Regions from separate parts of the Homo sapiens genome. Here regions 2, 3, 4, 5, 6 and 7 are each linked to region 1. The links are contacts of gene promoters, found by promoter capture Hi-C in human tissues and cell types (Jung and others, 2019). All regions are on one chromosome and are shown on one strand. The core of a region is centred on a gene start or on the middle of the fragment in contact, and the rest is flanking DNA. Distances in the headings are between cores, read along the strand shown. Region 1 holds the start of TGFB2 (transforming growth factor beta 2). Region 2 has its middle 79 kb from the start of LINC01710. Region 3 has its middle 99 kb from the start of LINC01710. Region 4 has its middle 120 kb from the start of LINC01710. Region 5 has its middle 140 kb from the start of LINC01710. Region 6 has its middle 180 kb from the start of LINC01710. Region 7 has its middle 200 kb from the start of LINC01710.

Evidence for each region. Contacts are between HindIII fragments. The study calls those that stand out against the background at their distance.
Region 2: a contact is called between a fragment that was not itself captured here and the fragment with the promoter of TGFB2 in region 1, in 1 of the 25 tissues and cell types used here (thymus).
Region 3: a contact is called between a fragment that was not itself captured here and the fragment with the promoter of TGFB2 in region 1, in 2 of the 25 tissues and cell types used here (IMR-90 fibroblasts and aorta).
Region 4: a contact is called between a fragment that was not itself captured here and the fragment with the promoter of TGFB2 in region 1, in 1 of the 25 tissues and cell types used here (mesenchymal stem cells).
Region 5: a contact is called between a fragment that was not itself captured here and the fragment with the promoter of TGFB2 in region 1, in 3 of the 25 tissues and cell types used here (heart left ventricle, liver and mesendoderm cells).
Region 6: a contact is called between a fragment that was not itself captured here and the fragment with the promoter of TGFB2 in region 1, in 1 of the 25 tissues and cell types used here (mesendoderm cells).
Region 7: a contact is called between a fragment that was not itself captured here and the fragment with the promoter of TGFB2 in region 1, in 2 of the 25 tissues and cell types used here (IMR-90 fibroblasts and aorta).

Annotation. Positions count from the first base shown.
Region 1 is chr1:218,342,912-218,347,235 of GRCh38, reverse strand. It overlaps TGFB2 (transforming growth factor beta 2), which reads right to left and starts at 1,900. Exons shown (of 7, transcript NM_003238.6): 1 at 189-1,900. The coding sequence starts at 534. TGFB2-AS1 (TGFB2 antisense RNA 1) reads left to right here and starts at 1,558. Exons shown (of 3, transcript NR_046268.1): 1 at 1,558-1,633; 2 at 1,848-2,061; 3 at 2,774-3,040. RefSeq lists enhancers at 1-351, 1,483-1,532 and a silencer at 1,913-1,972. The HindIII fragment of the contact is 13,667 bases long and covers 1-4,324 here.
Region 2 is chr1:218,837,593-218,841,916 of GRCh38, reverse strand. No RefSeq gene overlaps it. Among named protein-coding and RNA genes, the nearest start is that of LINC01710, 79 kb to the left of the region's middle. The HindIII fragment of the contact is 4,884 bases long and covers 1-4,324 here.
Region 3 is chr1:218,817,005-218,821,328 of GRCh38, reverse strand. No RefSeq gene overlaps it. Among named protein-coding and RNA genes, the nearest start is that of LINC01710, 99 kb to the left of the region's middle. The HindIII fragment of the contact is 5,444 bases long and covers 1-4,324 here.
Region 4 is chr1:218,798,156-218,802,479 of GRCh38, reverse strand. No RefSeq gene overlaps it. Among named protein-coding and RNA genes, the nearest start is that of LINC01710, 120 kb to the left of the region's middle. The HindIII fragment of the contact is 6,551 bases long and covers 1-4,324 here.
Region 5 is chr1:218,775,584-218,779,907 of GRCh38, reverse strand. No RefSeq gene overlaps it. Among named protein-coding and RNA genes, the nearest start is that of LINC01710, 140 kb to the left of the region's middle. The HindIII fragment of the contact is 5,281 bases long and covers 1-4,324 here.
Region 6 is chr1:218,740,761-218,745,084 of GRCh38, reverse strand. No RefSeq gene overlaps it. Among named protein-coding and RNA genes, the nearest start is that of LINC01710, 180 kb to the left of the region's middle. The HindIII fragment of the contact is 3,896 bases long and covers 1-3,750 here.
Region 7 is chr1:218,721,259-218,725,582 of GRCh38, reverse strand. No RefSeq gene overlaps it. Among named protein-coding and RNA genes, the nearest start is that of LINC01710, 200 kb to the left of the region's middle. The HindIII fragment of the contact is 4,462 bases long and covers 1-4,290 here.

The sequences.
Region 1 (4,324 bases), core at 651-3,150:
TAAACATTTTAAAGCCTGATGGCCTCAAGCATACAACTGAAAAGGAGGTGGTGGGGTGAAGGACAGGAGAACGGGAAAAGAGCGAACGGGAACCGCGAGAGGGAAGGGCGATCCCGGGAGCTGCTGCGGTTTTGAGAGCTCCGGGCAGAGCTAAACCTCAGGGGATGGAAGTCAAAATAAGTACTTACTTTCGGAGGGGAAGAAGGGCGGCATGTCTATTTTGTAAACCTCCTTGGCGTAGTACTCTTCGTCGCTCCTCTCGCGCTCGCAGGCGGCCGCCCTCCGGCTCGCCTTCTCCTGGAGCAAGTCCCTGGTGCTGTTGTAGATGGAAATCACCTCCGGGGGGACTTCCTCGGGCTCAGGATAGTCTTCTGGGGGACTGGTGAGCTTCAGCTTGCTCAGGATCTGCCCGCGGATCGCCTCGATCCTCTTGCGCATGAACTGGTCCATATCGAGTGTGCTGCAGGTAGACAGGCTGAGCGCGACCGTGACCAGATGCAGGATCAGAAAAGCGCTCAGCACACAGTAGTGCATTTTTTAAAAAAGTGGAAAAAAAAGTTGTTTTTAAAAGTCAGAATAAAAAAAAGAAATCAACAATTCTCAAAGTATAGATCAAGGAGAGTTGTTTGGTTTTTTGTTGTTGTTGTTTTTGATGCGAAACTTTTGCAAACAATCTAGTCAATGCCCAACAGAAAAACGTATCCTGCTTGAATTCCTTTAAAAAGAAAAGGCCAGTAGTTCCAAAAGTGGAAATATTAATACGGGACGGGCAGAGGGAACCCTGACTTTGGCGAGTAAGAAGAAAAAAATTCTTGGAGCAATGAGATGGGGAAAAAAAGAGACGAGTGGCTATTAAGTAGAAATAAATTTAAGAGGAGGAAGTGGAGTTCAGTGTGTCAGTCTCGGGTGCGGAGTGGCGGATCTGAACTCGGCTCCTCCGGCCAAAAGGGAAGAGATGAAAAGGTCCCGGGGCTGGCAGCTGGCGAACTGACGGGAGGGGCGCCGGGAGCGCGGTGAGGGGGGCCGCCGAGGCTGACCTGGGCTGAAATTTATATATTTAAAGAAGGAGCGGTTCGGTCCTGCCTTCCACTGCGGCGCTGAGAGCAGGAGCAGCAGCAGCTCCGGAGCAGAGAAGCGCACACGTGTGTGCGTGCGTGTGTGTGTGTGTGTGTGTGTGTGCGTGTGCGCGCGCTGGGGGCGAGCCCAGCGCACCGCGGGGAGGAGGGTGCGCTTCGCAGGGCGCTCGGTACTCGGTCGGGTGCCGCAGGGGCCGCAGAGGCTGCTGAGGCGGCGCGGATCCTGCTCTGGGAGCTGCGCTCCGTGGCCTACACCCTGGCGGGCGCGCGCTGACCCGCTTGGTTACTCCACGTTGCTGCCGCCGCCGCTTGCAAACGCTTCCAGCCTCCAGCTCCCTCCTTCTCCTGCTCCTCCTTCTCTTGCTCCAAACGCCAACCCAGCCACAGACGATCAGCCGTCGCGGTTGCGTTCACCCCCTGCGGATCACAACGGCAGCCCTTGCGACACCCTGGCTGGGGAGTTTTATTCCTGAGGGGGTTGCGCAGGGGCTCCCTTGGACTCCCACCCTTTCCCAACCTCTGCTGGCTTCTCCCCAACGTGGAATTGCTCGCTTAGGGTAGGTAGGCACTTGCCACCCTAAAATAGATCCTCTCTGTCTCCTCCTGTCTGCAGCCGGGCAGCCCCTCAGTTTGTTCCTGGATGACTCCCTAGACCGTCAGGCTAATATTCTCCATCCCCCTCCCCTGCCTCTTTCACTTGCGCTCTCGCTCTGCTGTCTCTTTCTCTCTTTCTCTTTCTATCTCTATCTCAATCTGTCTTTCTCTTGTCAGGAGCTTCTGGAGCTCCGCTCGGAGCGAACCTTCTGCTGCCAGCAGATAACATCACGATCTTGCCGGGGAGGGGAGATTTATAAGTTCTCTCTGAACCACGTGTCTGCCTTCAACAAAGTGACGTGCTAGGATTACAGTCAGAAGTCCTCTCGTTACTTAGACCACGAGCTCTCCCCGAACCGTTGAGGGAGTGTGGAAATGAGGACCGCTGTGGGTAAGGGAGGAAGGAGGTGGAATGTGCGCCCTGACAACAGTGATTTACGGTATTTACTTTCCAGTCATTTTGGACAGGTCTGTTGAAGGAAGGACAATCAAGTCTCCCGTTTTTACTTAGTGTAGCTCAGTCACAGCCTCCCAAGCTGAATCACTTGCTCTAGAAGGGAAGGCTTCCCTCCTGTATTATGTGTGCACACGCACCCCTATGGGAGGGAGCACTAGTCTACTCAGGGCCAGGCCAGTACTGAAGACATACCTTCCAATCTTTTAAATTCATGTCCTACCTCTTATTTTCTGGGATACCTTAGCAGGTTGCCATCCCAGAATTTATTTTGTTAGTTTGTTGTTTACAATGTACCCCTCTGTTTGTGAACTGCTGGAAAACAGAGATCCATCAATTTTACCTAAAGAATAAGGTATACTTGTTTGTTTTACTGATTTGAATGAATGGTCACCTTTATAATTTGCTGCCTAAGCCACTTCTTGTATGGCTTTCTTCTTCACCTTCTTGCTAGGCTAAACATTATCAACCAACTTCATTCTTTCCATAGCATTAATCCAGGAAGCTGGAATTTTAAGTGTTTGATGTCTACTGTTCTACACTACTCATAACTTGACATTTTCAATTTCAACTAAGTCTAAATTAGATGAATACAAGAATAACTCTTACCACTGTTCCACCTTCCCTTTTTCTTTTATTTTACCTTTAGTTACTCAAAGTCAACATTTTCATTTCGGCATGACTCTGCAGCCATACTGACCAGACAGATGATTTAAACTGGAAACTCTGTTGAATGTACTCCCAAACCCAAGATCTCTATACTGTTCTCTACTTCAGATGTTCCTGAGTTCAGAAAAGTCACAAAGAACTTTCTATCACTTTTGGAATTTATACTTCAGTTGTGTATGGGGCCTAGGTTATTAGTAGAGCACTGAATAAATAAAATAATAATAGCTAACATATACTACACTTAGTAATTTGATGTGTGTTGTGTATGGTCATTTAATCTTCACTATGAACCTATAAAGTGGGTCTTATTATCCATATCTGGCAGATGAGGAGACTGAGGTACAAAGAAGTTAAGTACTTTGTTCGAGACCACAGTAAGTGGTAGAGCTGGATTTTTGCAGTCAGGATCCACTATGTTCTTACCTACTATGTACTTCTGAGAAACAATGGTCCCAGAATATGTTCTGACAAACAGGAATTCTGGAGTCAAACAAGTTTGGGAGATACTGGGTACTCTCCTGTCCTCTTAGATTCCTCATTCTGGAACATTATCATGTTAAAGGCTCTGAAACTCCTGTAGAAGAGAAAACCTTTTCACTCTTTTAACCCAGCATTTTCCAAACTCCCTTGAATACAGAATTTTTTCCATTATCACACATTGAAAAACTCTGGAATAAAATAATTGTTCCAACCCACTTCTGAATAATTCTAAAAATTATGTATAAATCAGCACCAGCAGGTTCCTTTCCTTGATACCAGTTTTGAGTTGAAGCAAAGCTACCATCCCAGTAGCCCAAGAAAAAGATAATCAAGAGGCGCTACTGTCAGACTAGTAGTTTCATCCAGTTAGGTCCTCCCTCTGAGTTCAGTTTGAGAACTGCAGTAGGCTAGCTCTACAGATTGGACAAAAAGTGAATATTCTTACACCTGTGGCCATTATAGACACAGAGCAGGAGCTCCAAACCAGAGCTACTGAGAGAAGATGCTGCTGTGGAATATGGCTGGTTACCTGAATTAGCTATCACTGTATTTTGCTGAGGATACAGGTTCAGCTTCCACAAGCCAGTGAGCATCTTTCATGTTTATAGACAACCTTCTTGGTACAGACACTGATGCACCTTAAGTAGATTCAGATTAGAGTGTGGATAGAGTAGCAAAAGTTCATTTACATCACTTCTAGGAAAACAGCGCAAGCCATAAATTCTGATGGCCACCCCTCTTCCTGACATAGACATACACACTTTTGTTCATAATACTTAGTTTACTGAGTACCTATTGCTCACTTAACAACTCCTTAGACCTGAGACCCCTGACTTACTCATAAGAGGCTACTTTAATTTCCCCAAAGCCCAGGAGGGTAAGACGGGAGGTATTGGTAAAAGCTTCTGGAATGGGTAAGTGCAGTAAGTGAGTATAGCAGGAGAGGAGGAGCCCCTTTCCACCTCTCAAATGATCAGTTCTTTGAAGACCTAACCGGCAAGATTGCTAGAGCTGTCTCCCTGGTAACCGTAAATGAATCATTTCTTCTATT
Region 2 (4,324 bases), core at 859-3,358, 490 kb before region 1:
TTGATTTTTGATGGATTTTTTTTTTCTGGGAAGAGAAATCTAAATTTGTAGATTTTTTTTTTTTTTTTTTTGAAATGGAGTCTCTCTCTTGTCGCCCAGGCTGGAGTCCAATGGCATGATCTTGGCTCACTGCAACTTCTGCCTCCTGGGTTCAAGAAATTATCCTGCCTCAGCCTCCTGAGTAGATGGGATTACAGGTGCCTGCCACCACCCTGGCTGATTTTTGTACTTTTAGTAGATACAGGGTTTCGCTATGTTGGCCAGGCTGGTCTCTAACTCCTGACCTCAGGTGATCCACCCTCCTTGGCCTCCCAAAGTGCTAGGATTACAGGTATGAGCCACTGTGCCCAGACACTATTTTCTTTCGAACATATATTATTGTAATGATTTCTGACTTATTTTTGCTAAGTCACTTCTTTGTTTAGTTGTTGCTCCTTTGACGGTAAAGAGGGCTTTTTTTTCCTCTTACTGATTTATAGATTTTTGTTTTCTCCTTGTCTTTAATATCTTGGAGTTTCAGTAGCAAGAGAATAGATATGGAAATTTTTTTTATTGTGTTTGAGATTTATTTATCTGTAGATCTGCATTTTTCTTTAGTTGTGAAAAATTCTCAGCCATTATCTTAACAAATATTGTCTCTTCCGTTTGGTTCGCTCCTCTCTTTTTGGGATTCTGATTAAGCTTATGTTATCATTTCTCACTTTATTCTACTCACAGTTCCACAGGTTGTACAAGAGACTATATAGAAGAGAATGCCTTGCTGTTTTTTCAAACATCAGTGCTGTTTTCTAAGACATTTTGTCTGACCTACCTTTCAGTTCATCTATTCTTTCTTTTGCTGTGTCTATTCGCCTGTTAAACTTGTCCATTTAGTTTTAAATTTTAGTTTTTTTTAAATTCTGGAAATCATATTTGTTTAAGTTTATTATGTTATTTTATAGTTGATTTCTCTGCAGATGTATTCAATCTTTTAAAAACACTTAATTTTTTGTGTCTGGTAATTTCAATATCTGAATATTTGCAAGACTGTTTCTATTTTTTTGTTTCTTTACAGTGGCCTCCATTTATCAAGTATAATTTCCTTGTATGCCTGGTTATCTTTGCTGTATGTTACATGTTTTACATAAAATAATAATTTATAGAAATAATTATTGAGGCCTACAATATGTGAATATTTATCTAGATATAATTTGCTATTGTTCCTGCCAGATTGCTGGATCTCTTACAGTTTGGGATCACCTCAAATCAAGGTGCAAAGGTGGTTTTCATTTTTCTTTCCTTTTTTTCTTTTCTTTTTTTAAGAGATGGGGTCTCACTCTGTCACCCAGGCTGGAATTCAGTGGTGCCATCATAGCTCACTGCAGCCTCAAACTCTTGGGCTCAAGCGATCCTCCCACCTCAGCTTTCTGAGTAGATAAGACCACAGGTGTGATCAACCACAGCTGGCTATTGTTATTATTACTATTTTGTGGAGATGAAGTCTTACTATGCTGCCAAGACTGATCTCTAATTCCTGGCCTCAAGCAATCCTTCTATCCTCCCACCTCAGCCTCCACAAGTGCTAGGATTACAAGCATGAGCCATTGTACCTGGCCCCCAAAAGGATTTTAAATGATTCATGGGAATATTCAGTTAACCCTTACCTTACCATGGTCCTTTGGTTCTTCCGTGTGTGTGGGCAGGTGGAAGGTGTCTTCTGCTTTTATTTCTGTCCTTATCACTTGGTAAGGCTATCAAGATTAAAAATAACATTACCAGGTTCTGCAAATGCTCTCAAAATAAACTAGCTTAAGTACTCATTTCTCTAGTTATTTTTTCTTCACTTTGGATTAACATTTCCTTACTTGACCTCTTGAATTATTTTCAAAAATGTTTAGATGTTTCTAGACACATATTTTTGTTATTGTTTCTTTCCAGTGGGAAGAATGAACCAAATGGCTTTCTATTCACTCTTCATGATAGGTGATATACTCATTTCTAAAGTCTAAATTTGATATTGACAAATTGCCCTGCACAGTGAATGTATGAATTTGCACTCTCACTAGTAAGGTATGAGAGTGCCTCTTTGTCCTCATCCTCATCTATATGGTATGTTATCACACTTTTGAATCTTTGATAATCTGATAATTTTGCATAGTTTTAAATTTTAATTTATTTTAATATGAGTAAGAGTGAGTATTTTTATTTCAGGGGAATTTAAATTTCTTTTTTAACATTTTAATAGTCTCTCAGTTTGTATCATGTGCTCATTCTTCTTTTTGGTTGATGATCTTCTGGATTTGTAAGAGTTATTTTTAAAAAGTAAGTTGCATATTTTTTGTAAGTTGTTGTTATGGTCCCTCCCAAAGCTCATGTTGAAATTTAGTTGCCAATGTAATGGTGTTGGGAGGTGGGACATGTAGAAGGTAGTTAGGTCATTAAGATGGGTTAATGTCTTTCTCACAATACTGGGTTAGTTATTGCAAGATTGGATTAGTTCCTTTGAGAGTAGGTTGTTATAAACCTAGGTTGCCCCTTGTGTTCTATCTCTTTTGCACAGGCTCCCAACAACGTGATGCCATCTGCCATGCTATGATGTACCATGAGGCCCTCGCCAGATGCAGCCACCCAGTATGGAAACTTCTCAGTCTTCAGAGCTGTGAGACAAACCTCATTATTAAAATAGATTTTCCAGTCCCAGGTACTCTTTTATAGCAATAGGAAATGACCTAAGACAGCTGTTATGTTTTCCTGTTGTATCATCCGTCTTCTAATTTTCTTTTTGATAGTTTGGTAAGGATAAACTGTCTTAATTTTTTGTAGCTGTATTTATCAATGTGATTTTTGTAGTCTTTGTGTCACACACATAAAGGTCTTTCATACTCTGAAATTATAAACTGTTTTCTCCCTCCATTACTTTTATGATTTTATATTTTTTACTGTGGACTCTTCAATTTTCTTGAATTAGTTTCAGTGACAAAATGTGAATCCATTTTTGTCCAGATGGCTTCCCCATTATCTAAGCACCATTTATTGAATTATCCATCTTTTCCCCCACAGATATTTGACATATATTATATGATGCCACCTTTATTATATGCTAATCCCTAAGTATTTCTACCTATTTCTGGACTTCCTAGTTTGCTCCATTTACATGTCTGTCTGCTAATGTGCCAACACTGCCTCATTTTACTGTTAAACATTTTAATCATTTAAAAATATCTGTTGTGCTATTCTTTTATCAAAAATACTCTTCTGAATTTTCCTTTTAAAGTTTTCCATATTAAGTTTAAAACTAATTCCACAGAAAAATGCCTTGTTATTTTTATTGGAATCAAGTGTTATTTATAGATTAATTTTGAGAGAATTTATTGTTTTATGATGTTAGATTTTCCTATTCAAAAATATGATATGCTTTTATATTTGTCTAAGACTTCCTTTCTCCACTGGTAGCATTTGAATATTTTCTTCATACAGATTTTATGTGTTTCTTGTTAAGTATATTCTTTACTACTTCTCTCTTAAAGAGACTTTTTTTTCTTGAAGAGACTACATACTACAGCAGTTAAAGCCATAGCCTGTGGATTAAGACTCCCTAAATTTAAATTATGGTTCTAAAACTTACTAGCTGTAGAAACACGAACAAGTTAATTAAATGCTTTACCTCCATTTCTTCATTTGTACTACAAGCCTGTGAAAGCTCTCAGAAGAATGCCTAGTGCATAATAAGAATTCATTATTAACTCATTGTTGCTATTGTAGATGATTGTTTTTTTCCCATAAATCTTCCAACTTTTTATTATTTACATAAACAGAAACTATTGGTATCTGGACATATTTTGCATCTAGTCAGCTTATTAAATTTTCATTGTTTGGCAATCATTCTCCCAGCTGATTTTCTAAGTATGGTGTATAATCATATGTGTTTCAAGTAATGATATTTTATTTCCTTCTTTGCAGTTTTTATATTCCAATTGTTTTCTCATTATTTACTTTGGCTAGCATTTCCAGAAAGATATTTAAAACTTCAGAAGATACAAATAATAACTATAATCTTTCTTCTCTTTGATTCTAAGACTGTAGTTTCTCCTAGTTACCTGCTTATAGTTCTGAGCAGACTTTTTTCACATCCTTTGCCGGATTTTCTTCCTATAGATGCCTTTATATCTAGTAACTCCTGTTTCTAGATATTCTCTTTGTCCATGGTTTCTCACTGTACACATCATCCCAGAATAATTCTTCAATTAATACTCAAATTATAATGACTCACAAAATTACATATCCATTCTATATATATTTCCTACAACTCTAATTTCATATATTCACTTCCCATTGGGTTTTTCCA
Region 3 (4,324 bases), core at 957-3,456, 470 kb before region 1:
ATCTTTATTTCTGCCTTCATTTCGTTATTTACCCAGTAGTCATTCAGGAGCAAGTTGTTCAGTTTCCATGTAGTTGTGTGGTTTTGAGTGAGTTTCTTAATCCTGAGTTCTAATTTGATTGCATTGTGGTCTGAGAGACAGTTCATTGTGATTTTTGTTCTTTTGCATTTGCTGAGGAGTATTTTACTTTCAATTATGTGGTCAATTTTAGAATAAGTGCAATGTGGTGCTGAGAAGAATGTATATTCTGTTGATTTGGAGTGGAGAGTTCTGTAGATGTCTATTAGGTCTGCTTGGTCCAGAACTGAGTTCAAGTCCTAGATATCATTGTTAATTTTCTGTCTCATTGATCCATCTAATATTTGTGTCCTCTCTTATTTCCTTGAGCAGTGATTTGTAGTTCTCCTTGAAGAGGTCCTTCATGTTCCTTTTAACTTGTATTCCTAGGTACTTTATTTTCTTCGTAGCAATTGTGAATGGGAGTTCACTCATGATTTGGCTCTCTCCTTGTCTATTATTGGTGTATAAGAATGCTTGTGATTTTTGCACATGAATTGTGTAGCCTGAGACTTTGCTGAAGTTGTTTACCAGCTTAAGGAGTTTTTGGGCTAAGACGATGGGGTTTTCGAAATATACAATCATGTCATCTGCAAACAGAGACAATTTGATTTCCTCTCTTCCTATTTGAATACATTTTATTTCTTTCTCTTGCCCAATTGCCCTGGCCAGAACTTCCAATACTATGTTGAATAGGAGTGGTGAGAGAGGGCATCCTTGTCTTATGCCAATTTTCAAAGGGAATGCTTCCAGCTTTTACCCATTCAGTATGATATTGGCTATGGATTTGTCATAAATAGCTCTTATTATTTTGAGATATGTTCCATCAATATGTAGTTTATTGAGTGTTTTTAGCATGAAGGGTGTTGAATTTTATCGATGGCCTTTTCTGCATCTATTGAGACAATCATGCAGTTTTTGTCGTTGGTTCTGTTTATGTGATGGATTACGTTTATTGATTTGCTTATGTTGAACGAGACTTGCATCACAGGGATGAAGCCCACTTTAATGTGGTGGATAAGCTTTTTGATGTGCTGCTGGATTTGTTGCAGCATTTTTTACAATAGCAAAGACTTGGAATCAAGCCAAATACCTATCAATGAGAGACTGGATAAAGAAAATGTGGCACATATACACCACGGAATACTACGGAGCCATAAAAAAAGAATGAATTCATGTCCTTTGCAGGGATATGGATGAAGCTGGAAACCATCATTCTCCACAAACTAACACAGGAACAGAAAACTGAACACTGCATGTTCTCACTCATAAGTGGGAGTTGAACAATAAGAACACATGGACACAGGGAGGGGAACATCATACACCGGGGCCTGTCAGGGGGTGGGGGGCAAGGGGAGGGAGAGTATTAGGACAAATACCTAATGCATGCATGGCTTAAAACTTAGATGACGTGTTAATAGGTGCAGCAAACCACCATGACACATGTATACCTATGTAACAAATTTGCACGTTCAGCACATGTATTCCAGAATTTAAAGTAAAATAATTTTTTAAAAAGTGACATGAAACAAATGCAAAAAACGATAGTTTCAGTCATGCAAATTTCTAAGCTATCTCTGCTTATAAGAATGACAAGTATAGGAAGGAAATCTGCATTTGCTGAGAGCCTAATGTTAGCTGAGCAATTTAATTATGTTATCCTATTCCAGCCTCAAATAACCCTGGGACAGGTAAAAGCTCAAAGAATACACATTTCTTGATGGAGGTAGAACTGCTGGCAAAGCCCTCATATGAAGGAATGATATTCAATCCATTTCTGGGAGATCATGTTCAATCTACTTTAACCCACTACCTTGTGTTAAAGTGCAAATAGATCTTCAAGAATTTCATGGTTGCCTGCAAAAAGGCACCAACTAGCAAGTGAATTTACCACCATAGCACAATCACAGCTCACATCTATTGGACCCTTTCTATGCTCCAGGCATGGTGCTAAGCATTCTACATGCTTAACCTTGCTAAATCTTCTTCAAATGCCAGGCACGTGAGGAACCTATGATTTAGAGCAAGTAAGTAACTATCTCAAGGACATGTGTGAGCAAGTGGTCAAGTGAACCCTGAAAAATCTCTGTGCTCCTATGTTCTCTGATATTACAGGAGATCTGTCACCCTTGGGTCACAGTCCTGTTCTTAAATATTTCTCCAAAGTGTTATCTGAAGAAATACATCTTCTTCACCACAAGGGGATATTTTATCTCATGGATCTCTGCTGTACTACGTGGAACACACTTTACAACAATGAGAGATAATTTGAGGGACCCAGGTGTCCTCACAGCACAGAAAATGGAAAGGGCATGTCTGGGAGCCTTAACGGCATTCTTCCTTTGGTATGGTTTTGTTTGGTCTTCTATTCTGCAAGTTGGTGCCTCAGTTTCAGTAAAAAGGGGTAAGGCAAGTAGAGGGTAAGTAGTAAAAAGAGTTACAAAAGATGTAATAACAATAATATCAGCAATAACAATGATCCCACCCCGCAAGAAGAATTAAAGGATGAAGATTTATGTTGTTCTTTGAAGATGAAAAGAATGAACTTAATGTGTGTTATTTCATGATGCAGCCAAAAGCGTTGTCTCTGCCCCATCTCGGGAATGCCCAACCACTGAGCTGCTGCTTCCTTGCATGGGAATTACTCTGTGGACTGAAATGTATCATACAAAGGAAGATCTTAGAAAGTCCAGAGAGAAAGCCATCCTCAAGAGCATAGCTTCCACATATAAAGTTATTTTATTCACTTCTTTGACTCTGTATGCCACAGATGCCCTGCCTCAGTAGTCACATAAGGAGAAAATTCCCAATGAGAAAAAAAAAAAATTTTGAGAGTCAGGAACAAATTGGAACCGACACTGATCTCAATAGCAGGCGCTGGTAGGGGGTGAAATTATTTTTCAAACGCTTTTGCTTCTCCTGGTAAAGTAGTTAGTGTTGTATTTTTATGCTAGAAGGAAAAAGTGATGAAAAGTTTTTAAACCCAAGAAAACAAAACCCTTGATTTGTGTCCAATTTTTTTGCAAAACAGGATCCCATATGGCCAGTGCTGGTCTTAGTAGGTCTGAAACAAATTGGATGATGCACCTTTTAGATTTGGCTGTTCTGTTTCTCCTCATTTCTGTGAGGGTTTTGCTGCTCAGTAAGCTTATCAGCCTTGCTCTGGGGTTTTAGCTGCAGGGGGAGAGGAGGCAGAAGGCCATTTCATAACACTTTTAGTATCTTAGGTTCCAAACGCACAGATGTCCAGTCTGGCTCTGTAAGGGGAGGGGGGCGGGTGTGTGTCTGTGTGTGCAATAGTGAGAGTTGGTGTTTATGTGATAGGGCACGAGTAGAGGAGGGGTGGGGTCAATAGCACACCCACAGTACGCACCGCCCTGCAGCAGGCTGTCCTGTGCCATACTGTACCATGCACATCACACTGCCCTTTAAGCAGTTTTTCTTGTGCTACAAAACAGTAGAAGACTGTTTCCAGGTTTCTGCCTGCTTAGGCCAGTAATTCCAATCCCAAGCTTAGCCACAGTCTGACTTGAAGGGGAGAGTTCTAGAGAAGGATAAAAGAAGAATTTTCTCAGCAAGTTTGTTTCGTGTGCCCTCCCAAGTTCAAAGAGAAAATTCTGTCTCATTAAAATGACTTCTGGCTTTGCTTGGGGGAATTTCAGGCTTCAACAGTTAACTTTTCTGGAGTTATAACTTTTATGCATTTCTCTTTTTATTGGGTAGATGTTATGATTGGTTTTATAAGCAAAATAAACAGCTTAGGAACAAATGAAAGACTTTTTATTTCTCTTTTAACCGTAAATTCAAGAGCTTGAAATGAATCTGGCAAATAACTCATAATGCTGAGGAGAGCTGTGGCCGAAAGGCAAGATTTCCAAAAATTCTTGAAAATCCAAGTAATACCGGGAATAAATCCCAATTTCAACTTGTTGAGCCCTGTGTCTGTCTTAGAACATTTTTTTTTTCTACCTTAAAAAAATTGGAGAAATCAATCACAGAACTCCTGTTGTGCTGTCTCTTTTCCACAGAGTGCAGAGCTGTGCTCGAGGTCTAGCTGTTCTTAACAGAGCCACAGGGAGCAGGACAAGCACGTGCTTCCTAGTGAGTTGAGGAAGTAACTCCTCCATGTAGGAGTTAAGGCCTCCTAAAGTGCACTTCAAATAAAAATTTAAATTTTAAATTTTAAATTTTAAAAAAAATTAAATTTTTTCCTTATACATCTCATATTTATTTGATTATTTTTCTTTTATTTTTTCTTAAGATCAAC
Region 4 (4,324 bases), core at 615-3,114, 460 kb before region 1:
CAATCAGTTCTACGCAACAACCAGCTAACAACACAATGACAGAATCAAATCCGCACAAAGCAATATTAATGTTGAAAGTAAACGGGCTAAAGGCCTCACTTAAAAGGCACAGAGTGGGAAGTTGGATGAAAAAGTAACACCCACCTGCGTGTACTCTTCAAGAAACCCATCTCACATGCCATGACACCCAAAGGCTCAAAGAAAAGGAATGGAGAAAGATTTATCAAGCAAACAGAAAACAAAAAGACCAGGGATTGTTATTTTTATGTCAGACAAAACAAACTTTAAACCAACAGTGATCAAAAAGGACAAAGAAGGGAATTACAAAATGATAAAGTGTTTAATTCGACAAGAAGACAACTATCCTAAATATATATGCACCGAACACTGGAGCACTCAGACTCATAAAACAAGTTATTATAGACCTGCAAAGAGACTTAAATTACCACACAATAATAGTGGGAAACTTCAACAGCCCACTCTAAGGGTTAGACGGTTCATTGAGGCAGAAAACTAATAAAGCTGCAGGATCTAAACTTGATCCAGCAGATATCTACAGAACACTCCATCCCAAAACAACAGAATATATGTTCTCATCTGCGCATGGCACATACTGCAAGATTGACCACCTGTTCGGCCATAAAGCAATTCCTAACAAACTCAAAAAACCAAAATCATACGAACCACATTCAAAGACCACAGTGCAATAAAAATTGAAATCAATACCAAGAGGATTTTTGAAAACTGTACAATTACATGGAAATTAAACAACCTGCTCCTGAATGACTTTTGGGTAAAGAATGAAATTAAGGCAGAAATAAAGACATTGTTTGAAACTTATAAAAACAATGATACAACATACCAGATTCTCTGGGATACAGCTAAAGCATTATTCAGGGGAAAGTTTAGAGTGCTAAATGCCAACATCAAAATGGTAGAACGATCTCAAATTAACAACCTAACATCCCACCTAGAGAAACTAGACAAACAAGAGGAAACCAATTCCAAAGCTAGCAGAAAGAGCCAAAATCAGAGCTGAACTGAATGGAATTGAGACATAAAAACCCGTACAAAAGACAAGTGAAACCAAAAGTTTGCACTTTTAAAGAATAAATAGATTAATATACTTCTAGCTAGACTAATAAAGAAAAAAAGAGAGAAGATTCAAATAAACACAATCAGAAATGACAAAGGTGACATTACCACTGACCACAAACAAATACATAAAACCCTCAGAGACTATTACAAATACCTCTATGCACACAAACTAGAAAACCTAGAAGAAATGAATGAATTCCTGGAAATACCCAACTTTCAAGATTGAGCCAGGAAGAAATCGCATATCTGTACAGACCAATAACGAGCTCTGAAATCTAATCAGTAATTAAAGAACTACCAACCAGAAAAAGTCCGGGAACAGATGGATTCACAACTGAATTATACCAGACATATAAAGAAGGGTGGTATCAACCTATCAAACTATTCCAAAAAATTGAGGAGGAGGGATGCCTCCCTAAGTCATTCTATGAGGGCAGCATCATTCAATATCAAAACCTGGCACAGGCCGGGCATGGTGGCTCACACCTGTAATCCCAGCACTTTGGGAGGCCAAGGCAGGTGAATCACCTGAAGTCAGGAGTTGAAGACCAGCCTGGCCAACATGGTGAAACCCTATCTCTACTAAAAACACAAAAACTAGCTGGGTGTGGTGGCGGGTGCTGTAATCCCAGCTACCCGGGAGGCTTAGGCAAGAGAATCACTTGAACCCAGGAGGCAGGCATTGTAGTTAGCCAAGATGGTGCCATTGCATTCCAGCCTGGGCAACAAGAGCAAAACGCTGCCCGCTCCCCGACCTCCACAAAAAACAAACAAACAAACAAACAAAAACACCAAAAAACCTGGCACAGACACAATGAGGGAAGAAAACTTCAGGACAATGTCCCTGATGAACATAGACACATACTAGCCAGTTGAATCCAGCACCACATTGCAAAGCTAATCTATTATGATCAAGTAGGTTTTATCCCTGGGTTGCAAGTTTACTTCAACATACACAAATCAATAAATGTGATTCATCACATAAAGAGAACTAAAAACAAAGACAGGATGATCATCTCAATAGATGCAGAAAAGGCTCTCAATAAAATTTAACATCTGTTTATGTTAAAAACCCTCAAAAAAGTAGGCATCAAAGGAACATATCTCAAAATAATAAGAGCCATCTATAAGAAACCAACAGCCAACCTCATACTTCCCATCATACGGAATGGGAAAAAGCAGAAAGCATTCCCCCTTAGAATGAGAACAAGACAGGAATGCCCACCCTCACCACTCCTATTCAAGACAGTACAGGAAATCCTAGACAGAGCAATCAGGCAAAAGAAAGAAATAAAAGACATTTAAATAGGAAGACTGGATGTCAAACTAGATCTCTTTGCGGGTGATATGATTCTATACCTAGAAAACCCCAGAGTCTCTGCTCAAAGTCTCCTAGAATGGATGGAAAACTTCAGTTTTCAGTTTCAGTTTTGTATCCTGAAACTTCAGTTTACAGGATACAGCTAACCAGGTAAGTGAAATATATCTACAGTGAGAATTATAAAGTATTGCTGAAAGAAATCAAAGACAACAAAGACAAATCGAAAAATATTCCATGCTTATGGATAGGAAGAATATGGTTAAAATGACCATACTGCCCAAAGCAATACAGATTCAGTGCTATTCCTATCAAACTACCAATGTCATTGTTCATACAACTAGAAAAAAGCTATTTTAAAATTCACATGGAATTAAACAACAAAAAAGGCCTGAATAGCCAAAGTAAACCTAAGGAAAAAGAATACTACCCAACTTCAAACTATACTACAAGGCTACTTTGTATACGAAAACAGCATGGCACTGTTACAAAAACAGATGCATAGACCAATGGAACAGAATAGAGAGCCCAGAAATAAAGCCACACACCTATAACCATTTGATCTTCAACAAAGTCAATAGTAACAAGCAATGGGGAAAGGACTCCCTCTTCAATTAATGGTGCTAGAATAACTGGTTAGCCGTATGCAGAAGATTGAAACTGGACCCCTTCCTTTCACCATATCCAAAAATCAACTCAAGATGGATGAAAGACTTAAACATAAAACCTAAAACTATAAAAACCCTAGAAGAAAACCTATGAAATATCACTGTGGACATAGGCCTTCACAAAGATATCATGATGAAGATTTCAAAAGCAATTGCAAACAAAAATAAAAATGTATAACTGGGCCGTAATTAAACTAAAGCACTTCTGCTTAGCAAAGGAGACCATCAACAGAGTAAACAGACAATCTAAAGAATGACAGAAAATATTTGTGAACTATGCATCCAACAAAGGTCTAATATCCAGATTCTATGAGGAACTTATACAAATCAACAAGCGAAAAACAAACAACCCCATTAAAAAGTGAACAAAGGACATGAACAGACACTTTTCAAAAGAAGACATACATGCAGCCAATAAGCATATGAAAAAATGCTCAACATCACTAATCATTAAAGAAATTCTAATCAAAACCACAATAAGATACCACCTTATACCAGTCAGAATGGCTATTATTAAAGAGTCAAAGAATAACAGATGTTGGTGAGGTTGCAGAGAAAAAAGAATACTTGTACACTGCCGGTGGAAATGTAAACTAATTCAGCTACTGTGGAAAGCAGTTTGGAGATTTGTTAAAGAACTTAAAACAGAACTACCATTCAACCCAGCAATCCAATTACTGGATATATACCCAGAATATAAATCATTCTACCAGAAAAACACATGTATGCACAGTTCATCACAGCACTTTTCACAATAGTAAAGACATGAAGACAACCTGGATGCCCATCACTGGTGTGGTGGACTGGATAAAGAAAATGTGGGGCTGGGTGTGGTGGCTCATGCCTGTAATCCCAAAACTTTGGAAGACCAAGGCTGGTGAATCACTTGACCAGCCTGGCCAACATGGTGAAATCTTGTCTCTACCAAAAATACAAAAATGAGCCGGGTGTGGTGGTGCATGCCTGTAGTCCCAACTATTCGAGAGGCTGAGGGAGGAGAATCACTTTAATCCAGGAGGCACAGGTTGCAGTGAGCCACTGCAAGATCACGCCACTGCACTTCAGCCTGGGTGACAGAGCAAGACTCCATCTCAAAAAAAAAAAAAAAAAAAAAAGAAAGGAAATGTGGTACATATAGACCATGGAATACACACAGCCATAAAAAAAAAAGGATAAAATAATGTCATTTGCAGCAATATAGATGTAGCTGGAGGCCATTATCGAAAGTGGACTAACACAA
Region 5 (4,324 bases), core at 1,350-3,849, 430 kb before region 1:
ATGTAATGGAAAATTCTAAGTGCTAGTTTAAGGAATGGCTAAATGCAGAGCCCAGATAATGGCACCAGGACTTCGTTTCTGTGTGTGTGTTCTTCTTGTCATCACACAAGCTTCACAAAGCAAGCAGAGCCTGAGAGCAGCAGGCATGAAATAGCAGCAGCATGCAAATACTTCACAGGTTGTCATGAAGATTGAATGAGTTAAAAAACATCAAGCCCTTAGAACCCTGCCCAGCACCTATCATGTGCTCAGTAAGGGTTAGCTGTTAGTATTATTTGCCCACAAGCTCCACCTGAGGGCAAGATGATGAATGCAGCTCCAGAACTTACGTTCTTTCAGATTTATGCCTAAGGGAAAAGAATACCTACCTGAGTCCCAGAAGTTTCAGCAAATTTTTATGGCTTCTAATGACTTTGAGAGAACTTTTACATTCCTGAATATTAGATGTTGATTGACCAGACCTGAGTCATAGTGTGTAAGTGAGCCCAGTTCACCCATCATTGGCTCCACTGACAATGAAAGTACTATTCTCTAGTATTTTTGAAAAAGAGATGCAGTTTGCAAGAAATGACACAAGTTATAAAAACCTAAGATTTTGGCATCACACACACACACACACACACACACACACACACACACGAGTCATACATACATATACTCAAATGTCAATATAAAGGGCTTTATTTTTTTAAAGTCCTATGTCAGATTAAATTATTATTTATAGAAATATCTATGGCAGGTATAGAATTTCTCTGATCCTCTACAGTCAGGAATTAGTTTGGTTATTTTTATTTTTTGACTTTCAGATTTCAGTCTCAAATCACTACCCACATTGCCACTCTGCATAAAACCCTAGTAAACAAAGCCAGGGTTGTCTGGGAAATGCATAGCATGAATCGTGTGCAGCCACTGTCTTTTATGCAGTTAGCTTTTTAATTGACTTTGCATGCATCAACTGTGCCTTCCAGTAAGCAGATACAGCTCCCGGGGAATGTCAAAAGATTCCTATCTCAAGAGAAGTTCTAATCCAGTTGGTGCCATTGAGAAACCTTAAATGGCAGCTTTCATCTTATTTACAAAAATTCTCTGGGTTCAGGTTACATTTTAATCCCAGTTGCTATATCAGCTTTATGGCAGCGGAGGTGGGGGATGGACTTGGGTGGCTGTTTTTAGCTAAATTTTATTGTTCTTTCCTTTTATGTAAATTATTACCTCAAGCAGAATTCTATAATGGAGGGCACTTTCCAGGTCTGGAGGGCAGGCCAGCTTTGGACTCAAACATTACCATTTCTTCTTTGCTGAACAGAGAAGGCTGCAGCTTGTGATAGAGAAACAAGTTTATCTGTGCATCTTTTTTCAACATTACTAGGGAAAATTCGATCCCTTGGATATATCTGCAGATCTCCATTACCCAAAGCAAAGCTATAACCATAGTGGTGACTCATTAGCCATCATGACTCTCCAAAATGAAGAGTGTAGCATTGTCACCATTTTTTTTTTTGGCATCCAAACCCACACTGGGCTTGTTATCCTTGGATAAAATCTCATCTAGATTCTCAGTTTCCCATCCTGTCACATAGTCTGTGTGTGTGTCTGTGTATGTTTAAGAAAATGATACCCATCCCTTGAGCTTGGTTCTCATTTGTTTACCACATAGTATTTGGTCAGTCCATTTTTGCCTTTAAATACGAATAAAGGAATGTTGAGTAAGAGGGAAACACCTGTTACGTAGAGAACACGTGCCATGCTCCATAAACACTACCTAATCAAATCCTCAACATAATCCAGGGAGTTGGTGGCAGTTATTATTCTCATTTTACAGATGAGTAGACCTGAGGCTCAGATGCTTGAAGTGATTCTGTCAAGATCTGACTTCTAAAGGATGGCCTGGCTAAGATTTGAACACAGATTGCCTTCTCCATCAGACCACATGGCTTCGGAGTTGAGCATTGCATAGCTCTTCCTTGACCACCTCCCCTGCCTCTCAGCATCCTCTGTGCCGTGTCCCTTCTGAGCCTGGTACATGCAAGACAGTCTATTGGAGAGTTGAAAAATCAGCTACGAAAATCTTACTCACATGACACAATCAATTCTACTTTTACCCAAATCCATAATTTGGTAACATGTAACATGATCTGAGGGTTTCCTGGTAGACCCTTAACTCTTTCCTTATCTGAACCACCCCCACTGGGTGTCATTAGACATATGATCTCTGTGCTTTAAGCATTACCCTTCTCGAGGAGAAGTGTAATGAAAAGTCTAGGTAATAAGGTGATCAATATCAGATTATGATGGATTATGTGCTGTCCCAACAACTTATTGCAATTTCACCCATTAGAGCTTTGACTCCAGTAACAAGCTGCCATCTAGACAGTCTGAGAACAAGGTCACAGAGGGATGGTGAGATAAAAGTCAAATGAGCATCACACTGGGAGATAAGAGAAACTGCCAGCTGTCCTGGGATGACTGATGTAGCCTCTCAGGGCTCAGTTTTCTCATCTATGAAGTGGAAATAAAAGTATCTTTCATCACAAGTGTAATGTGAGTTTAAACGAAGTGACAGAGCCCTGGCTTTTGTATATATTCCATAGTAGCTATCTCTGATCAATATTACTCCTCTGCCCAATGCTCTCTGCGGAGAGAATGGTGAACCATGTCCAGGCTAGGCAGAATGCATGGGCCACTCTGTCAGTCACCAACCCTGATGGCCAAGGGCAGGTGGAGTCCTCAGGAAATCTCATGCTCCCAATCCTAAGGAGTTTCCAACATAAGAGGTGAGAAAGCTCAAGCACAGGAAAGATTTAAGAAACGCTAAAAAGAATATATAATCACGTAGAGCAATGGGTTAGGGCTTTGTGGATCTAAACACATAAGCACCAAGAGGAAGATGGGAGTAATGGAGTAATCTGAACCAAGTGGAACTGGTTTAAAATGGGCAAAACTTTAAGACATAGGAAGAAGGATGATAGGGCCGTCCTGTAAATCCCTTGTGAAACCATGGCTTGTCCTATGCAGTGCTGGGGTACCTAGGTGTTGCACACCCCAACTCTCTGATGGTTAGTACATTTTGAACAGAAAAAAAAACATCCTTAAAACTACCCTATGAGCTTTATATTATTCCCATTTTATATATGTGGTCCTCAGCATAGCCCAGATCCACGCATTTTCTTTTGTTTAGATGAATTAAGTTTATACTCTGCTTCCCAAACCCCTGTCAACACCCAAGGAAATCCAAAAGGCTTTCCTTCTTCTTCAGGGACAATATTGAAAGTAGTTAAAAACAGTACAGGCTAAAATCACAGTGGTGGGAGGGTCAGGATGCTTAGAGAAGGCACTTAGAGGGCCCACTATAGAAACTATGTACTAGCTGTAACAGGAGCACTTCAATATTCTCACAAACCTCTTGGCTATACACTAACGTGCAGGAGCTAAATTCATTTCTATCCTTCTCTCCGCTTTACCTATTATCTCAGAAATGCCCATGCTGATGATGGGCACCGTGAAAGTTTGGGAATACCAAGCACTGTTAGTATTGCTTTTACCATAATCATGCCTGGGTTTTGCCTTTGTGTGAAGAATTTCACAGTTTTCCTCAAACTGCTAGTAATGGGTAGAGCTTTGATAATAAGCAAAAGAAGGGGCTTGGGTCTCTCACCTTCTTCAATCTCTCATTTTCAGAGCTGCCTTGCACTTTCAGACATCATTAGCTAAAGTCCATTCCCACAATTCCCACTGCAACAAAAGCCAATAATACTTCTTAAAACTATGCAATCAGTATAGATTTCTGAGAAAATTCTTGTCATGGAGGCCTCTAAAAAGTGCTTCCTGTTCAGGATCCTCATCTGCAGAAATGACCTGGAGTTTGTCAGCCTCACTTCTTATCATGGCCCCCACATAAACAGAAAGACAAATGTAAGATGGCGCCCTAACTATGCAGCCAAAGATTGTGCAGTAAATCAGGACGCCCTGCACTCACATAGCTCTTCTGTGAAAAATGGGGTATTTTTTAATAGACTGACAGTAATAAGCCAGGTTGTGTAACCACCAAAACAAACAAATAAAAAAACACCCAGTTGAAGAGTAGAAGCAGGCCACGTGATAGAGTTGGGGCCCCCTCCCCCTCATTCGCACAGCCCCTTCAATCTTAGGTTAAGAGGAGTTACTGGAGTGAAGTTATTTGTATAACCCACAAGAAGGCCTCCCACCCCCACATCCTTTAACTGGATTAGGTCTGGAAAAGCTAAAATGATTTTTAAGTGTTCCATCAAAATCAGGATTCTTATCACTCTGGTTTGGCCACCAGCCTGCATTTAGCTCCCAGTTA
Region 6 (4,324 bases), core at 553-3,052, 400 kb before region 1:
TAAATGCCTTGAGGTAGTCTTCCCTTGGTTAAATCTGCTTGATGTTCTAAAACCTTTTTGCACTTGAATATTGATGTCTTTCTCCAAGTTTGGAAATTTCTCTGTTATTATTTTTAAATGAACTTTCTACCCTGATCTCTCTTTTTCTACCTCCTCACTAAGGCTAATAAGTCTTTAATTTGCTTTTTTATGGCTATTTTCTAGATCTTGTAGGAAGGCTTCATTCTTTTTTATTCTATTTTCTTTTGTCTCCTCTGAGTATAAATTTTCAAGTAGAGTGCCTTCGAGTTCACTAATTCTTTCTTCTGCTTGATCAATTCTGCTGTTAGAGACTCTGATGCATTCCTTTTATGTCTACTGAGTTTTTCAGCTCCAGAATTTCTGCTTCATTTTTTTAAAAATTTCAATCTTTTTGTTAAATTTATCTGATAGGATTGTGAATTCCTTCTCTGTCTTATTTTGAATTTCACTGAACTTCCTCAAAACAGCTATTTTGAATTGTCTGTCTAAAAGGCTTAATATCCCTGTCACTCTGAGGTTGATCCTTGGTGCCTTATTTAGTTCCTTTGGTGAGATCATGTTTTCCTGGATGACCCTGATGCTTGTGGATGTTTGTCAATATCTGGGCATTGAAGAGTTAGATATTTATTGTAGTCGTTGTAGTCTGGGCTTATTTGTGCCTGTCTGTCTTGGGAAGGCTTTTCAAGAAAATTGTGTGTTGTGATCTACATCTTTGATCACTGTATCCCTATCTGCCTTAGGGGGCACCCTAAGGGCAGTAATGTTGTGACTCTTACAGACTCATAGAGGTACCTCCTTAGTCTTTGGTGAGATCCAGGAGATTTCTCTGGATTACTAGACAGAGACTCTTGTTTCCTTCTCTTACTTTCCCCCAAACAAATGGAGTCTCTCTTCCTTCATGCTGAGCTGCCTAGTGCTGGGGGAGGGGTGACACAAGCATATGGAACTATGCCAGGTCAGACCTGAAGCCAGCACAGCACTGAGTCTTGCCCAAGGTAACCACTTCCTGGCTACCACCAATGTTCCCTCAAGGCCCCAGAGTTCTACAATCAGCAGGTATTGAAAACATCCACACTTGTGTCTTTCCCTTTAGAGCAGCAAGCTACCCACAGGTCCGAGATAGGTCCAGAAATGCTGTCCAAGGGCCAGGACCTGGAGTCTGGAACCTTAGGAATCTACGTGAAATTCTATTTTACTGCGGCTGAGCTGGCCCTCAAGCCACAAAACAAAGTTCTTCCCACTTTCCTTTCTCCTTTCCTTAAGTAGAGGAGTCTCTTACCATGGCTACCACTGCCTTGGACCCATGGCAAGTACTGCCTGGCTACTACCAATGTTCACTCAAGGCCCAAGGACTCTTCAGTCAGCTTATGGTGAATGCTGCCAGGCCTAAATCTCTCCCTTCAAGGAAGTGGACTCCCCTCTGATGTAGGGCAGGTTAACAAATGTTATCCAGGAGCCAAGGCCTGAAACTGGTTACCCCAGGAGCTCACTTGGTGCTCTGTCTCACTGTGGCAGAACTGGAACCCAAACTGCAAAACAAAGTTCCTTTACTTTTCCTTTTTTTTGAGACAGAGTCTTGCTCTGTCGCCCAGGCTGGAGTGCAGTGGCGCAATCTCGGCTCACTGCAAGCTCCACCTCCCGGGTTCACGCCATACTCCTGACTCAGCCTCCTGAGTAGCTGGGACCACAGGCACCCACCACCACCCGCGCCCGGCTAATTTTTGGTGTTTTTAGTAGAGACGGGGTTTCACCGCGTTAGCCAGGATGGTCTTGATCTCCTGACCTCGGCCTCCCAAAGTGTTGGTATTATAGGCGTGAGCCACCACGTCCATCCTTTTTTTTTTTTTTCACTGAGGCAGAAGGAGACCCTCCTTATAGCCACCACAGATGGGAATGTGGTGGGTCACACCTGAAGTGAAGACTGGGTCTCACTCAAGGCTTATGGTGAATGCTGCCTGGCAACTGTTGATGTTTACTGATGTTTATTCAAAGTGCCCTTGAGTCAGCAGGTGATTAATCGTGCCAGGACTATGGCCTTCCTTTCAAGGCAGCAGGTCTCCTTCTGGCCCAGGGTATGTCTAGAAATGTCTGGGACTTAGGGCCTGGAATGGGGGGCCTCAGGAATCTGCCTGTAGCTGAGCTACAGGTATCCAATTCGCAAGATAAAATCCTCTTTACTTTTCCCTCTCCTCTTCTCTGCCCACAGTGACAGAGTTAGTTGGAACTCAGGTTTTGATCACTGGCCTGGACAACTCCTCTTTGTCTAGGTCTGGTGTAAATGCTCCCTCTGTGGACCTGGGCTGAATTCTGCCCCATGTTGCTTTCTGCTGTGACAGGGCAGCAGTAAGTTACAATGCCAAGTCCCACAATCACTGCACTCTCTCTCCCCGAGATGTGCAGATATTCTATTCATACCATATGGCCACTGCTACTCCCAGGAATCAGGGAGGGGCGGTACTGGCAATCCTAGACTGTCTTTCCTTTCCTCTTCAGTGCCTCTTTTCTTGTTATGATCTTAAAACTAGGTATTGTTATCATTCACCTGCTTTTTGGTTTTTATGAAGGTGCTTTCTTATGTGAATAGTTTTTCAATTTGGAGTTCCTGTAGGGAGGACAATCAATGGAGGGTTCTGTTTGGCCATCTTGCTCCACCTCCCCTCTGTTTTTTGTTTTTTAAAGTAAACGATGTTTATTTACAGATGGTAGAAGAAAGTCCTTCTTTATAAAGAGTAATGTGAGCTTATAAACAGATAGAAAATCACCATTGTGCCATTCCCCCAAGATAATTAAATTAGACAAGGATCAAGAAAGTCTACTAAGACCATTAGATTAAACGTAGGTGGAAAATAAAGCATTATTGTGATGCCAAATGGCATCTTACACACGACTTGCCAATCCAAAGGAAAAACATAACTTTACTATAGAAATATCCTGTGGTTGCACTTTGATCATATGACCAAATTTAGCGTTGTTATAGTGGGATCCCTTGATATTGTGCAATATGAAGTATGTAACATCATCTGTGGAATATTTTTGCCAAAACAATTTAACCAAAATCTAAACAAGCCCTTGTTTAGATATTTCCAATGGAAATATATGGGATAGTCATAAGTTAAATCTCACCACAAGGAAACAAACAAACAAATCTAACATGTGGGACATTATACAAGAAAACTAATGTGGTATGTTTTTAAAAAGTCAAAGTTAAGAGCAAAAAAAGGTTGAGGACTGTTCTTGAATAAAATAGCTAAAGAAACAAAAGAATCAAATCCAATGTGCGAAGTTTGGCTGGATTGTTTCAGAAAAAAAGCCACAAACAATATTTTGTTGACAATTTAGAAATTTTGAATATGGATTGAATATTGGATGCTATTAAGGAAATACACTTAATTTTCTTTTTTTTTTTATTTTTTGAGATGGAGTCTTGCTCTGTTGCCCAGGCTGGAGTGTGCAGTGGTGCAATCTTGGCTCACTGCAACCTCCACCTCCCAGGTTCAAGTGATTCTCCTGCTTCAGTCTCCCAAGTAGCTGGGACTATAGGTGCATGCCACCACACCTGGCTAATTTTTGTATTTTTAGTAGAGACGGGGTTTCACCATGTTGGCCAGGATGGTCTCGATCTCCTGACCTTGTGATCTGCCCGCCTCAGCCTCCCAAAGTGCGGGGATTACAGGCATGAGCCACCGCGCCCGGACTCAGTTAATTTTCTTAAATGTAAAAACAGTATTAAGGTTATGTAGGAAAGTGCCTTCTTTTTTGGAGATACAAGTAGACATGTTCAGGAGTGAAATGTCATGTCTGCAATTAACTTAGAAGTAGTTCAGCAAACGGGTAGTGGAATATGAGCTATCAGGATAATATTCTTTCAGCCTTTATTAGTCAGTTCTTGCACTGCTATAAAGAAATACCTAAAACTGGGTAATTTATAGAAAAGAGAGGTTTAATTGGCTCACGGTTCTGCAGGCTGTACAGGAAGCATGGCTGGGGAGGCCTTGGGAAACTTTCAATCATGGCGGAAGGGGAAACAGGCACATCCTACATGGCCAGAGCAGGAGGAAGAGAGTGAAAGGGAAGTGCTGCACGCTTCTAAACAATCAGATCTTGTGAGAACTCACTCACTACCACAAGAACAGCAAGGGGGAAATCCACTTCCATGATCAAAGCACCTCCCCCCAGGCCTCTCCTCCAACATTGGGGATTACAGTTCAACATGGGATTTGGGTGGGGATACAAATCCATAGCCTATCACAGCTTCTCTGCATGTTTGAAAATGATTTCAGAGTAAAATATTTGGAAGTGGAGA
Region 7 (4,324 bases), core at 810-3,309, 380 kb before region 1:
TCTCAAAAAAAAAAAAAAAGAAAAGAAAAGAAAAAGAAAGAAAGAAAATAAAAGAAATAAGACAGGATTGGGCATAAGAAGCCAACCTTAATACATTGGCAATTGATGCCTCAGCTGATTCTATGGGGAGTTATGAAACTGAGGTAATATTTCACTGTTTTCCTAACTAAATGAAAATGGGTCAGTCCTTTGTATTTCCATACCAGTCAGTTATTGATCACTGGCCACTTGAAGAGGGCATAATCTTGGGCAGCAAAGTTTCCTAAAGCTGAGGGCAATTTCCAACAAGAAAATCAGCTGTGAGCCATCAGTAGACACTATTTGCCTCAGCTAGGGGACGAATGTGTTAGCTGCATAGTTTAGGCACTGAATTAATCTATTTATTTCTTTCTGCACATGCATATAATACAGAAAATAAAACAATTCTATGAAGTAGAATTTCCCTTATGCCGCGCATTTCACCCAGCTAAACATTTTCAATTCCTTTAGCTGGTTATTGTTATATTTATGTTCAGTTATCCAAAAGAGTTCTTCGTGACCTTTTTCATATGGGGAGTACCATTAGGCCCTGCTCTATTTTGACCATTCTCTGCATAGCCCTGTCCTCTAGGAGATAAAAACCAGGACTTTGACTTTGCTCAGCTACCCTATATATTTAGGAAATCAATATCTTGAGGTTTATCTATAATCAATTATTTGTCTTTTGCTCCATTTTTTGTTTGTTTTGTTTTGGAGGGAAAATAGCCTAAGTATTATCTTTCAATTCTTTTATTAAGTATTTTATTTCTGTTATAATGTTTGTAATTTCTATGGACCCTTTTTGTTTTGTTGTTTACGTTGTGTTCTATGTGTGTTATATCATCCTACTGTCTTATGAGAGCAATATTTCATCTCTTTAGCAATTTGATAGTTTATGTGAAGACTTCTTCTCCCTGAATCATCTTAGGACCCCCTAAATTGCTGTTTTATGTTGTTTTTTAACCTCTATATTTAATTTTAGAAATCTTCAAATATCTGTTCGTTGTTAACTTTCTGGTATATTTTGAAATGTCCATAAAAAAGTTGATTGAAACACAAATAGGCTTGTTGATCATGTACTTAATGTAGGTCGATATTTCTGGGATGTTTTGTTATAGAACCCGCAATGAAGTGCTATTAGTGTTTCCTCTTGGGCTAGTCATTTTCACCAGTGAAGATTCTACTTAAAGAATATAATCCTGAATCCTGGCTACCAATTTTGAGATTTAAGTGGAAAAAAAAGCTTGAAATTCTCAACATTTTAAGTGTAGCCTTCGAATTAGTTACTTTTTTTTTTTTTTTTTGAGACAGAGTCTCGCTCTGTCGCCCAGGCTGGAGTGCGGTGGCGCGATCTCAGCTCACTGCAAGCTCCGCGTCCTGGGTTCACGCCATTCTCCTGCCTCAGCCTCCCAAGCAGCTGGGACTACAGGCACCTGCCACCACGCCAGGCTAATTTGTGTGTGTGTGTGTGCTTTTAGTGGAGATGGGGTTTCACTGTGTTAGCCAGGATGGTCTCGATTTCCTGACCTTGTGATCTGCCCGCCTCGGCCTCCCAAAGTGCTGGGATTACAGGCGTGAGCTACCGTGCCCCAGCCTAGTTCCCTTTTTCTTATGCGTGGTATGCTCTCTCTCTACTAGGCTAGTGCTAGTGTCTCTAAATCTATTTTCCCTCTTCAGATCTTCAATCTCTTTCTCTTCTTGGTTGAGGAGAAGCAGTCACTTTATGGCACAAAGGGACAGATGGTCTTGGTGAATCTACCTGTTTTTAAACATAGCCCCACCTTCAATTGACTTTCAGAGGTACCTAATGCCAGTGATTTATGTGTTTTGGGGGTTCTGTTTACTGTAGCTTTCTGTGTCCTTTTTTTGTTCTGGTAGGTTTAGATATTAGACATACACATGCTCCACACACACACACAATCTGCAATAGTACAATCTTTACTGCTAATTTAGTGGGCCTGGGAATACATTCAACATTCATTTTAGACAGAAGTCCTCTAAGCTTTTGTATTGTTTTTTAATTTTAATGCAAATCTAATATATTATGTTTAGGTAACATAGTGTTCATCAAGTTGGACCTTGGAATTTGTTGGTTTCATCTGTGATTAGTACATGGCTATTTTGTTGGTGTTTACATTTAAAAGAATATTTGTCATTCGTTATGTGTAATTTTTTATCTGTCTCTCTTAATAAGCTTATTAATACTATTCAAATTTTTTATATCTTTACTTATTTACTAACCATTTAATTACAAGGTGGTTATATTTAAATCTCCAACTACAATCATTACATTATCTATCTCTCACTATAATTCTATCAGCTGCTACTTTATATATATATTGATGCTACATTGTGGGGTACATATTTGGTTCCTGATAGTTATGACCTCTTATTATTTTGACTTTATGTGCATATATAGTTCGTACTTGTCCTTTGTTATTTTTTCAAGTTAAATTCTATTTTTTTCTGATATTAAAATTATCTGGTTTTCTTTTGATTCATTTTTGCCTAGAGTTTATCTTTCTTTTATTTCTGTTTTTTTCATATCTTTTTGTTTTAAGCACTTGTTTTGTAATCAAAATACTGTAATCCAATGTTATATTATAATTGCAAGGTATTATAATTTAGCTTTGGATTAGTTATTTTCATTGACTTACATGTATTAGAATAGACATCATATTATTTCTGCATTTTTAGTATTTTTTATTTACCACACATTTTATATTATGTTTTCTTCTTTCCTGCCTTCCATTGGAAATACAAATTTCTTTACATGGTCAGAATACTTTATTAAACCTAGTTTCTTTCTTCTTCTGGTTACTATAGATATATTAAAATTCTTACATACTATTATTTTATTTCCTTATTTCTTAATTTTATAAATATTTTTGTCTTCCCCCTAAAGAAGACAAGTACCTTAGAATAATATATCACATTCCCTCAATTCCCTTCACCTTGCATTTTAGTTTCAAATTATTGTAGCCAGCATTAAATTTTACTAATTTTACTCATATTTTTTTCTTATGGTGTCATTCTATATTTATTTCTCTTTTTGTCAGATTACTTTCTTCATAATATTTTCAAAGAGAATCTTTTTGCAGTAAACTCTCTGGAATTTATAGGTGTTTCAGTAGCTCTTTATTTCATGCCTGTATTAAAACATTGATTAGCTATGTATAAAATTATAGCTTTAGAATTCTTTTTTTAATACTTTGAAATATAATTTATTATTTTCTTACATCAAGAGTTATAAGAAAAATCTATACATCAGTAAGAGAAGTTCGATGTTGATCTGATCTTGTTCCTTTGTAATCTCATTTTCATTAAGTCAAATTTTTTTAATTTTGTATTTAATGGTGTTAAGTTTCATTATGTAGTTATTGGCTTTACCTTATCCACCTTTTTTGCCCTCTTTTCAATCTTAAATCTTTTATTCTGGGAGCTTCTTAGAATATTTTTTTTTCTGCTAGTTTTCCTTTTTTTGGACTACTATACAGATGATAATAACTGTTTCAACTCTTCATAGCTGTTGAATTTGGTTTTATAATCTGTACCTCTTCCTGATATATTGTGGATAAATTTCTCAATCTACTTTCTAGAATACAAATTTTTTTCTTCAGCCACATCTCTAACATGCTATTTAATTTAGCTATTAAACTCTTTATTTCAACTCTGTTTTTTCTTATCCAGGATTTTCAAATAGTTCTTTTTTTAAAAAAAAATTCTTTTTGCCTTTATTTCAAATAGCTATGTGGTTTCATATCTCTTTGAAAATACATATTATGTTTGGATTAAATTGGTTTTCTGTCTAATACTTTTATTCTGATCCTCTACTATAAATTGTTCAAAGTATTACCTTTCTTTTATAGCAGGTAACTCATAAAATTTCTTGTTATTCATTGTAACCTCATATTTCTCTGGAGGCATTATTACATTGGTTAATGAGGTGTCCAATGAGAGAAGTTAAACTCCAGGTCCTAACTTTTGACGTCACACAGACTTAATGGGTGTGGGGAAATATGCCTTAGAGGCTGGATGTGGTGGCTTGGCTGAGCGTGGTGGCTCATACCTATAATCCCAGCACGTTGGGAGGCCGGAGTGGGCAGATTACTTGAGGTCAGGAGTTCGAGATTAGCCTGGCCAATATGGTGAAATGCCGTTTCTACTAAAAATACAAAAATTAGCTGGGCATGGTGGCAAGCATCTGTAATCCCAACTACTCAAGAGGCTGAGACAGGAGAATCGCTTGAACCCAGGAGGCAGAGGTTGTGGTGAGCCGAGATTGTGCCATTGGACTTTAGCCTGG